Linked DNA regions of Homo sapiens: all the other regions are linked to region 3. The links are contacts of gene promoters, found by promoter capture Hi-C in human tissues and cell types (Jung and others, 2019). All regions are on one chromosome and are shown on one strand. Each heading gives the region's core, a stretch centred on a gene start or on the middle of the fragment in contact. The rest is flanking DNA. Distances are from core to core; before and after follow the strand shown.

The links. The method cuts DNA at HindIII sites, captures the fragments that hold promoters and counts their contacts. A contact is called where the count stands out against the background at its distance.
Region 1: a contact is called between a fragment that was not itself captured here and the fragment with the promoter of MAP2 in region 3, in 1 of the 25 tissues and cell types used here (hippocampus).
Region 2: a contact is called between a fragment that was not itself captured here and the fragment with the promoter of MAP2 in region 3, in 1 of the 25 tissues and cell types used here (hippocampus).

The regions. Positions count from the first base shown.
Region 1 is chr2:209,680,987-209,684,912 of GRCh38, reverse strand. All of the region lies in intron 7 of MAP2 (microtubule associated protein 2), which reads right to left. Among named protein-coding and RNA genes, the nearest start is that of UNC80, 89 kb to the left of the region's middle. The HindIII fragment of the contact is 3,730 bases long and covers 624-3,926 here.
Region 2 is chr2:209,697,235-209,701,190 of GRCh38, reverse strand. MAP2 (microtubule associated protein 2) reads right to left here. Exons shown (of 16, transcript NM_001375505.1): 11 at 853-914. Among named protein-coding and RNA genes, the nearest start is that of UNC80, 73 kb to the left of the region's middle. The HindIII fragment of the contact is 5,822 bases long and covers 1-3,956 here.
Region 3 is chr2:209,422,578-209,426,091 of GRCh38, reverse strand. It overlaps MAP2 (microtubule associated protein 2), which reads right to left and starts at 2,045. Exons shown (of 16, transcript NM_001375505.1): 1 at 1,816-2,045. RefSeq lists a silencer at 1,975-2,364. The HindIII fragment of the contact is 7,301 bases long and covers 1-3,514 here.

The DNA of each region.
Region 1 (3,926 bases), core at 1,239-3,738, 260 kb before region 3:
CATCAAAGTTGGAGTTGAGAGATATATTAAAAATTAAATTTATTTCACAACAGTTAGTTTGCTGTTTGAGGTCAGGATTGAATGCATGCATCCTTTTACTAGAAGTGGGCATGCTTCTGGGGACTCTGCTTTTGCCACAGAATATTCTATTTCATTTAATCACGTGTTATGCTAAAAACAGGGTAACCTTATACACCTTGGACTTTTGCATAGTTTTCTGCATAATTATAATCTTCAAAAATAAAGCTTACCTGGTTTCAATGGAGGAATAAAGTTTCCCTAGTTTGCTTTCATTGAAACTTTTTCTTTTAAATAAAGCATTTGAAAATTTACACTGGGCTAATGTAAGGTTTGCCATGTAAAACCCAGCCTTAGTATACCAGCCTCCTTTGGAGACTGCATCTTGTGGAATGTTAGTGATTCGGTACTTTTTGCTTGTTGTGGCATCACAGCATATGGTCGATGGCTGCTGGCCGCACTTACATTGTTCTCCACCATTTCCAAGCCCTTTCCATTCTGCCAGCTTTTGACTGAGGACTTCTCAGTCTGCTGACTGTTACTGCTGCCCCAGAATGACATAAAGAGAAAACTACTTTCAGATGCGCGATGATTAGGTCACCACATCCATGACACAGGAAAACACCACCCTAGAATTCTGGAGCAAACCTAAAAGGGCAGAAAGAATCCTGGTTCTGTGTTCAGATTATTCCATTCCTTCACAGCCTTCCAAATTCTAATAGCTCAGTCCAAATGACAACTATTATGATTAGGCCAAAAAGAAAAAGGAGGTTAATTTGAAAACATCATAATCAGTACAGGTTTGGTTTACTGTACCGTAGATCCTTTTCTAAGTGTGCAGCTTGTTTCCTTTTTTTTCATCAAAATCCCTTGTAAATGTTTTCTAGAATAAGCACATATCCTGGGAATTACTAATATTACATTAATTATAATAAATATTCATAAATTATAGTAATTAACATCTTAAATTTTTAGTGGAAGCTTTCATGCTTCCCCTTTGGGAAAGAACAGCTTTAAAAAGTTTGATAATTAACAAAAAGAAAATGTATCCTCAAAATCGCTGAATTAATCTAACAAAAGAGCTTTCTTCCATTTGTATAAAAGGATCAGACTGCAGCAGTCACTATACCCTCAGATTAAAGTTGCTTTGAGGGTATCAAGGAGGGTAAATAATCCCCTAGATAAGGCAAAAAAATCCACCTGCTCCCTTTCCACCTGACCTGCTATAAGCAATATATTGATGGAATTTGGGCTGAGTATTTACAAACTACTTGGTTTGAAAAATTGAACAGTTCAATCCTGTCTTGTGACTTGTCACTAATTTATTTTCTGACAAAACTAAACTTAAAAAATACTTGTATATTACTTAAGTGTGGCTTAACATAAAAGAGAAACAGTAGTTTGTCTAGACCACAAATCTTTTACATATTTAAGGTGAGAATATTATCTGGTCTTTATAGAGATAGAGTTTATAAAATATATACATCTGTTTTTCTTAAAACTCAAAAAATGGTTATACTTTTAAAATCAAATAATCAGAACTTCAGATAGTTCAATACTCAAAAAGTTAAAAACACAAGTTTGGCTTGAAAATAACTTTGAATTACTTTCAATAAGAGGTTAGGTGGTATTTTCCTTGAATATCTTGAAACAGCTTGAAGAAAGTAATTCCAAAATATTAGGGAACTCTGGAAAGTTGACACCTAAGTTACCAAAATGTGAAGGTGATTCTACATTTTATTTATTTATGTTTTCATTATATCCATCATATTACCCTACAGGAAGCAGGCTGGGTGAATTCCCAGATGGATGGGAGGACTCTGCTTCTTCCCTTTCTGTTCCAAATCCCATATAGAGTAAGAAGATTAAATGACTTGACCTCAAGCCGACTTTTGGAGTAAACCTGCTCTGTCAACATCATATCCCTCTCTGGGTTAAGAGGATTCTCTGATGCTTGAAAAGCTTTAAGTAGGAGCTTAGAAACATTTTCCATGGCCTGAAGGAGGTACAAGGGTCATGTCAGGCTTCCCGCTGCATTCAGAATGAAATCTAGGCCACTGACCCCAGCTGACCACTGCTTACTCTCACACTCCACTGCTCTACCCTTTCTCACTACCCATCAGCCACGGACCCCCTTCAGTTCCTGGGTCACTTCATCTTCTTGGGCACCTGAGCGCCCTTGTGCTTTTTTCTATCTTTATTTGGCCAACACTTCCTCCTCATGCTTCTGGTCTCAGCTACTTAGCCATCCCCTCACCACCCAATAAAATCAGGTTTCTCTTGTAATATTTTAAAGCTCCCTATTCTTTTCCTCTTCAATGCTAATCCAATTTGAAATTATTGGTAAGCTTATTTATTGGATTTCTGTTCTCCACTAGATAGTGTACTATTTATTTATTTATTTTGAGATGGAGTCTCGCTATGTCACCAGGCTACAGTGTAATGGTGCCATCTTGGCTCGCTGCAACCTCCGCCTTCTGGGTTCAAGTGATTCTCCTGCCTCAGCCTCCCGAGTAGCTGGGATTATAGGCGTACGCCACCATGCCTGGCTAATTTTTGTATTTTTAGTAGAGACGGGTTTTCACCATGTTGGCCAGGCTGATCTTGAACTCCTGACCTCAAGTGATCTGCCCGCCTCGGCCTCCCAAAGTGCTGGGATTACCGGCTATAGTGTACTCTTTAAAAGCAGGGATCATGTCTGTTTTGTTCACTAGTATATACTCAGAATTTGAAGAGTACCTGGAAGACTGTAGGGCTCAATAAATATGTGCCCAGTGAATGGATAAACATAAGGTCAAAAGGAACTTTTCAAACCTATAAATTAAAAGATTAAATCACATTAACTAATAATCAGTGGCTGCTATGCACTGATTATTATCCCCAAAGTTTCTTTTATTCCTCAGAAAAATTTAGTTTGTTTATTATTTCAGGCAGTAAATTGGAAAAAAAAAGCTTCAATTTAAGAAAGAAAAACCTTGCTAAAATAAATTTAGGTTTATAAATCTGTGACAAAATAAAATTATATTAGAGGTGATAATATATGGTTCACTAATTCAAATTTTTGTATTTACGAAATCAAAGAATATTTTAAATGAACCTAATTACAAATGATAAAAAGACAAGTCTTTTAAAATAAATGTTCTTCAGTCTTTAACACAGTAAAAAGGAAAAATAAATGAATAAATGAATAAAATAAACACTTTTAAAATTCTGGTTTTAATATATGAAAACTAAGTAATGTTGAAACAACAATGGAGCCCTAGTTCTTCTCTGCCTTTTCCTGTGACTCTCAAACAATAAACAAAGGTTAACTGGACTAAGTCGGAGAACCAGTAATGGTTTCCTTTTAAGTAGTGCCTTTCATCTCAGATTCTGAATGAAAATTCTTCAAAGGCATCTTTCTGTTGTATCAATGAGAATTGAAAAGCTAACATGACATTCCATGTTGAGTAAGTTCATAAAAAGATCCATGGACAATAACAGGTCTCAACAGGAAAGAGTCATGAGCTCAGCTTCCAGTTCAATGCTCTCAATATCAGATTCATTCATTAACTTCTTCATTTATTCATTAATATTTATTAAATTTGCTATGAGTCAGGCCCTGGGGAAGGTCTTGGCAATATAACAGTGAGCAAAACAGAGATAATTCCTGACACTTTCATAAGGAAGTGTTGATTTCATTGATAAATCTGACCCCTACTATTATGGAGATTACATTTATATTTATTTTAATTTTTGTTCAGTCACTTACAAGGTAGAATTGTATCTTCCCTGTTAAAGCATTCTAAAGTGAATGGGGTCTCTACAGTTATTTTAGCAACTGAACACAAAATTCTTTTCCTTAATCAAGCAGATTTCTTTTTTATTTACCAAATTCCTCTACTTTTGCTTTTATAAAAATAAGTGAT
Region 2 (3,956 bases), core at 109-2,608, 280 kb before region 3:
CAGAATGTATAAGTGGGTAGAACCTTTCCAGAGGGCAATTTGACAATATGCAGCAAAAACTTTAAATATTAACATTTTTCTTGAAACAATAATTTCACTAGTAGAAAATGAAGGAAATAGCATACAAACTGAACTTAGCCAAAAAGTTCTCTACAGTAATATTGTTAAAATACCAACAAAAAATTCTAAAAGTCAAATAATAGGAAATTGATTAAGTATATCATTGCAAAGAAATAAAATGCAGTATTACGTAGTCATTAAAACTTACAAAATGTTCAACGACATGGAAGTACATTTACTGTTGAATTTAAAAAGTGATACACAGTGTTCTCATTTTTGTTGTTAAGCCTATAAATGTATAGAAAAAAATTAGGATTTTACATCAAAATGATAGCTGTGTTTATCTTTATGATAAGAGGATTATAATTGATTTCTACTTCTTTCTGCTTGTGTGCAGTGCTTCATTTGGTCATATTTCTATTTTGTAACAAAAACAATGAAAGTGTATTATAAAATACAGTTACTGTTGATTATATGGTTTAATTTGATTCTATGAAAAGTAACTAAACTGGACTTCCTTACTTTTGCCATATCATTGTGCTGCTTTCTATGTTTTTGTCTTACTAGTAAGGAAGCAGTCCAGCTGTGCCCTCACCAATTACCATCATACGCCATCCCAGAAGACGTTCATCCTTCCATGCCTGGATGCCACGGAGAATCTTCTGGGTGAGCGAACTATTTAAAGTGACTTTTAAGAGTAAATATCTAAACAATATCAAAAGTTATTCTGATGTTACAGCTAATACCAAAGGAACTTCAAATGAAGAACAAGGAAAAACTTATTTTACTCACAGAGACTTTGTCCTTTGCCTGTTTAAATACACTGGGAGCCAGAGCTGATTCCCCACCTGCTGCTGTTGAAAATAAAAGACAAACAACCCCAAACTTAGTTGCTAAAAAGTCATAAATGCAGTTTTAAATACCTGTAGGATATTCTGTTGTGTCAACAGACTAATGCAAAGCAAAAGTTTGCTTATTATGAGACTCAAATTCAATAACTCAAGTAACATGAATAACAATAACATAGCATGTGGCTCCAACAAATAGTGTGTGCTAATTAATATAACCCATTGTCTACCAAAGTGCAGGTAAGCACACCACGTAATTTTTCTATTGATTACCAATGTATCTTTGAATCACTAGTACGTAAGGAGATCCTTTAGAACAGAAGTTACAGAATAGCAATGTGAATGTTGCAAAATTTAAGAAAAAGAACACTGATTGGTTTCTGGGGTTCACATGATATATAGAAGAGGGTTCATAGAGATTTCCAAACCCTCTTCTTGTTCTGGAAGCCACTGGCATAACCATAGATATTTCGGTATTTTACATTTCAAACTGTCATGATCAGCTAACCCCTTTCCCTTTGTATCCCTTCATTTCACAATATGAATGACATACTTGTTTGATGTGAAAATGCCACATGAGAAGGGAAGAAAAATAGCTTGTCAAGAACAGAAAACACGAGAGAAAATTTAAGTTCAGTAAATACAGAACATGTTCTACACATGCACTTCCTGTATGAAATTATTACCACATCTGTTACTGTTGTTTCTCTTGCTGCTGTTTTATGCTTCTGGATTCAATTTTAAACTCCATTATCTCTAGCACATTTTGGTTGATGACTTACCTGAGGTAGCTTAGCTCTCATGATTTAAAACAATCCCTTGTGGTTTGGAAAACCATCTATGTTTGAAAATTGGGCTTAGAAGATAAAATAATCAAGCTTGTGTGTTTATTCCTCCTTAATTTTCATTCATAAAATAGAAACCCTCAGAAAAAAAATGTATCCTTATAAGCCCTCTGAATAAGTTCTAAAAAGGTATTTTTATGACAGGTACAGTTCTGACACAAACATAATAACTGTCTACAATATGCTTTATGCCATGTAGGACTAGCTAGTGAGATTTTTCAGATTCTAGGACTCATTGTTTTTAAGGAAGCAGTGAAAACGATGCCTTACTACTATCTCTGTAATATAACTCAAATTCTTGTGACATGTATAGCTTGCTTCAAACCAATGACACCTACATCTGATACATGCTTTCTCCTAAAGTATCTTAACATTAGACCAGAATAAAGGAAAATCTTCATTAGTTCAAAGATTTTAAATTTCTTTCAAAGAATGAATAAAAACACAATTTACTTTAAATGTGGCAAATTGAATACCAATGACATGTAAACACTTTACTAAACCATTTTACGTTTTCTCTAAAATTCCACAATCCTGATGACATCTTTCATCCTTTTAGGTAGGTTATAGAGTTTTTATGCTAAATCAAGAGATTCTGCTTGCCCAAGCAATTTTGCTACTAAGTTTAATGAAGCTATTAATTTGCTATTAAGTTTAATGAAGTTCTAAGTTTAATGAAGCTAAAAACCTGAGAAAATGAATTGAGGTATGTCACGTTAATTCCTAACTCCTAGCTTCAGATATATTCTTCATCCTGAAGCTTTATCAAGGTGTGCGTATATACAAGCCTTCTATTTTCAAATCCTGCCTTAGATTCTTGTTTTTGAAGGAAAGCACATGATATGATTTCTAGATGAAGAACACAAATACAAAATACTTGGAATTTTCAATGGCTAAAATAAAACCATCAGTTACCTTGATTTTCTCTTTCTCACAAAGGCTAATGTTCCTCTTAACCTTTAAAACCATCCGAAGATTTATATAGAGGCATTGATGATGTACAATGGAAAGAAAAACATTCTTTTCTGATTTAGCAATCTGTCATTTTGTAGACTACAAGCATGCCACTTAATAAATGCTAAAATAAAATATAGTGTAAGGTAAGATTATCCTAGTATAATTAAACATATAAAATAAATACTTTGCCCTGAAATTTAGAAAAAAGTTGGCATTACAGATATTTGTAGGGGTTTTTATGATGGTTTCCAACAAGTTTCATTCCTTTGTTTTACCAGTTTTATAAACTTAGGAAAAAATATGTATTTGAAGAAGAGTAATAAGTAGATAGCAGGCCGGGTGCAGTGGCTCATGCCTGTAATCCCAGCACTTTGGGAGGCTGAGGCAGGTGGATCACGAGGTCAGGAGTTCAAAACCAGCCTGGCCAAGATGGTGAAACCCCGTCTCTACTAAAAATACAAAAAAAAAAAAAATTAGCTGGGTGCACGCCTGTAATCCCAGCTACTCCGGAGGCTGAGGCAGAAGAACTGCTTGAACCCAGGAGGTGGAGGTTTCAGTGAGCCGAGGTCGTGCCACTGCACTCCAGCCTGGGCGACAGAGCGAGATTCCGTCTTGGGAAACAAAAAAAAAGTAGACAGCAAAGTAAAAATAAACCGAAGTTTATTTCTAACTGAAGTTCCTCCTAAAAGGAAGAGTTTTAGCTTCAAATTTGTGAAACTAAATTATATAGAAAAGTCGAGCAGTTTGGATCCAACATATTTAAGAAATCTCCATGACAAAATGTCAGCTAAGAGATGTAGTTCAGTAGAGTGAAAATCTTGTTAATTTTGGATATGAGGAATAAAATCTGATATAATTACCAGAAAATTTTGTTTTCTATCTTCTTTTTTTCAGCAAAAGCAAAGTAATAGTAATTTTGCAAACCACAATTTCACTTCCTGGCTTGCTTTTCATTTTCAGTATCTAAATCACTACACATTCTTGGTGGTTTTCAATAAATTCATCAACATCAGTAACAGATTTGGCAGTAACAATGTAGAAAATAGGACAAATATTTATGGGTTTAAGCATGAGAGAGATAAATAAGCAAAATAATGAGAATGCATACCACAGTTAAATTCATCGCCATCGTCTAACCAAACACACAGAATGAAAATAGGAATCCCCAGAACGTGACACTAGAGCACAATGCCAAGATACAATCACGCACTGTTATGTCTGAGCATGACAAAGAAACAGATGGTCA
Region 3 (3,514 bases), core at 796-3,295:
CACCTATGATAATCAGATGAAATTACCAGGAAATCAACATAAACATACACACACAAATATAATAATCCTTACTGAATGAGAAAAATGCCTTTTTTCTTGAAGGAAGGGTTCTTTGTGTGCATGGGGCTGGGGCTTTTGGAACATCCATGATTTGCAAATTCACAAGGATTTCTACCAAAATACACCTATTGCCCGGTTAAAGGGCTGCTTTGTGTTATATTCTGATGGAAGGCTGTAATCTTTTCCCTGGGCATAAAATTAAAAGCATTCTAAAGGGCTTCTATTTATTCAATCTATTTGACTGCCAAAAAAAATCATAATTGTCCACAGTGAAATGACATAGTGAAAGAACTATGCTTTTGAACTGGGCTGGTACCTGCAGCTCATGCATGGGACATTTTGCATAATGTGGCTCACATAGAAGGCTTTGTTCTCCATCGCCTCACTGTGGCTGCAAACCTCAATTTCAGTTTGCAATCATTTCCTTTTCTAGACTGATCATTTTAAAATAAATTATACCTTTAACATTTAAATTAGTTCCTTACCAACAGTCATCAATCCCTTTGCCTCACACCCAAAATTATATACCACCCAACAATATTTTTTTGTTTTGCACTACAGATTTTATTCACAACATAATTTCCAAACCCTCAAATACAATTTTAAAAAATCAGTCTCTTAAGTACCTATTTCCTTTTGTAACATGTATATAGTGTATTATACATTTGTGTGCATACTTGTGTGTTTAGGCATTTAAACAAAAACCCTTTACACCGGACTCAATTTTAAAGCGTCTATGTCCTGGAAGCATTGTGCTAAGAGCTTACGACAGATGGCACACAGCAATTGTCACAAACGGGCTTGTTGCTAATGAAAGCTTTTTATTTTCTGACAAAAATCCTGAAGTCCGGATGCCAGGCAGAATAACATTAATTTCCAGTTTTCAAGGATTTTTTTTCTGACTCCATCCATACCCCTCCCCCTATACACACCCAAATATACAGCTCCCCACTCCTAGCCCCCCACACACTCTTTCTTGAAATTTCCATCCTTAAACAAAAGACGAGGTGGGGGAAGGCAGGCAGCCAGCACTGCAGTCCTCCTCTCCCCACCAAAAAAGCCTTTTAAAAAGAAAAGGAAGAAAAGAATAGATGCACTGTAGATTCAGAGGTCCACCCCCAACGTTTAAAAAGAAAAACGACTGTGTGGAAGCCTAACCAGACTCATTTCTTCGTGCCCCGCCCTCCAACACCACCAGGCATTTATTTTTCATTTTCCTACAATTATAAATATCAGTCCTCCTCTCCCAGCTGTTTCTGAAGGAATTACAGAGAAACATGATTTGAAATGGACAAGGCTTCCCTCACTCACTCACTTCCCAGTGTGCAGTTCTCTGCAGCTGGATGAACAAAAAAATCCCCTACCTCGATTTCCTATTTTCCACTATCTTTGTAGAATCCACTCCCCTTCTTTCCACAGCGCAGGTAATACTGGCTTTCGATACACGTATTCTAACCTGGCGTAAGTTTTCAGTTGTTTCAAAGTGGTACCTAACAAGCTCACTCGCTCTTCTACGAAGCCAGGGCTCAGGTACCAGTAGCGTCCGGCCCCCTGCTCCGCAGTGACACCTGGAGAGGACAGGCCCGAATCTTCCGCCAGGTGCACGGCTGGCCACTCGACCAACTACCAGACTGCCTGCTGCGAGTCCCAGAGGACGAGACACAACCCCTCCCCATTCCTATCTCTTTCTACTCAGAGACCGAGGCAAAAGGAGAGGCGCCCTACATAGAGCCAGAGGTGGGGACGGTCTCTTACCTGGGCGCAGAAACTGGATGCACCCGCGGTCGCGACTGCCACCGCTCACGGACTTAGCGCCCTCCGGAGAAAAAGGAGAGGGGTAGAAGGGTTAGGGGAAGAAGGGGAGGGGGGGGAAAAAGAAGGAGAAGGAAGAGAAAGAAGCGGAAGGGAAGTAAAGGAAGAGAGGATGCTGCTGCTGCTGCTGCTGCTGCCCAGAGCCCGCGCAGCCCGAGCGCCCGCCCCAGACTGAGAGCGGCGCCCCCAGCCGGCTCCCAGCGCAGCAGCTCCGCCTCGGCCCCTCCTCCCCGCCCCGCGCAGGTCCCGCCCCGCGCAGGTCCCGCCAGACTCCGCGAGCCCGTGGGCGGCCGCGGCGGGGCTGGCGCTGCCACCGCCGCAGTGTCCGGGAGGGGGAGCACGACCGCTTCGCCTTCTGCCGCAGCCGCCGGCCGCCAGGCGGGGACCGCGAGGTGGGAGCCTCGGAGAGCCCCGCCCAGCCGCTGGCCCGGGCCTTCTCCAGAGCCCTGGTCCCCTCCCGCGACAAAGTGAGGCCAGTGCCCGGGCGGCGGGACAGGCGGGCCTTCCTCACTGGCGTCCTTGGAAAATCGGGGGCAACAGCTTTAGTCTCTCGGGAGCAACCTCCGCAGACCCCCTGCTTCCCTCCCCTGTGTCGCTATGAGGCGGGGTTGCCAGTGGCACCTCACCAGGAAAGCTCACTGGCCTCGCCTCACAAACCCAACCACAGGTGCATCCAGAAAAGACAAAGGAATGTGGGGCGCTTGAGAACATAGAACAACTCTTGTCAGCACTAAAGGAGCAATGGCTGAGGGAGTAGAGAATTCTAGACCCAGCTCTGTCACGAATTAGATTCATTCATTTATTGAGTCAACGAATGTTTATTGACACCTACTATGTGTCAGGCACTCTTCTAAGCATTAGAAACATCAGTGACAGACCTTTCCCACAACCCTAATAAGAAAGATCCCCTCCCTTTATAGTTATTACATTCTAGATAGCCAGACGTATGCTCTAGAGACAGTTCACTTAATCTAACTCTCAGTGTATTCATGTGTCATATGAGAACTAAAAATGACAGCCCAATTCTCTTATGCTTAAAAAGATAATGAATATGAAGGATCTTTGAAGAATGATACAAATACAATGAATTAGAAAGCACGGAAAGTGTTGACCTTGAAATATCACCCTTAAAAAAATTGCCTCTTAAATGCTTTTGAAAGTGAAATGACCACCTGAGAAAACAAATGATTCTTTACCATTCGTACTAAGGAGTATGAATCTTCATAATCAGAGAGCAGCATTTTATTGTAAGTAAGAAAAGTAAGATGCAACTTAGAATTACTTCGAGTGTCTATATCAAGTACTGACAAGGTGTTTTTAAGGTCAGCCAACATACTGAGGTGTGGCTTGTACAGTCTTCACAGTGCTGATGAAACAGCAGCCATAATGTGGTTCTGTCACTTAAATTAACCACAGAATCTTAGAACCTAGAACATTAGAGTTGATGTTTTAGGCAGCTGGTCTAATTTCCTCCATTTTCAGATGGAAAGAGACCCAATGGTGGGAGCCTGCAAGGATTAGAAACCATCACAGAGGAAGCTGTGAAAGCCTGCCCTCCCCAGTCACACCCAGTGCTCTGTGTCCTGCCTCCCCCGCTCTGCTTCATACCATGTGCCAGTGACGCTTGCAGTGAGTTTGGAAG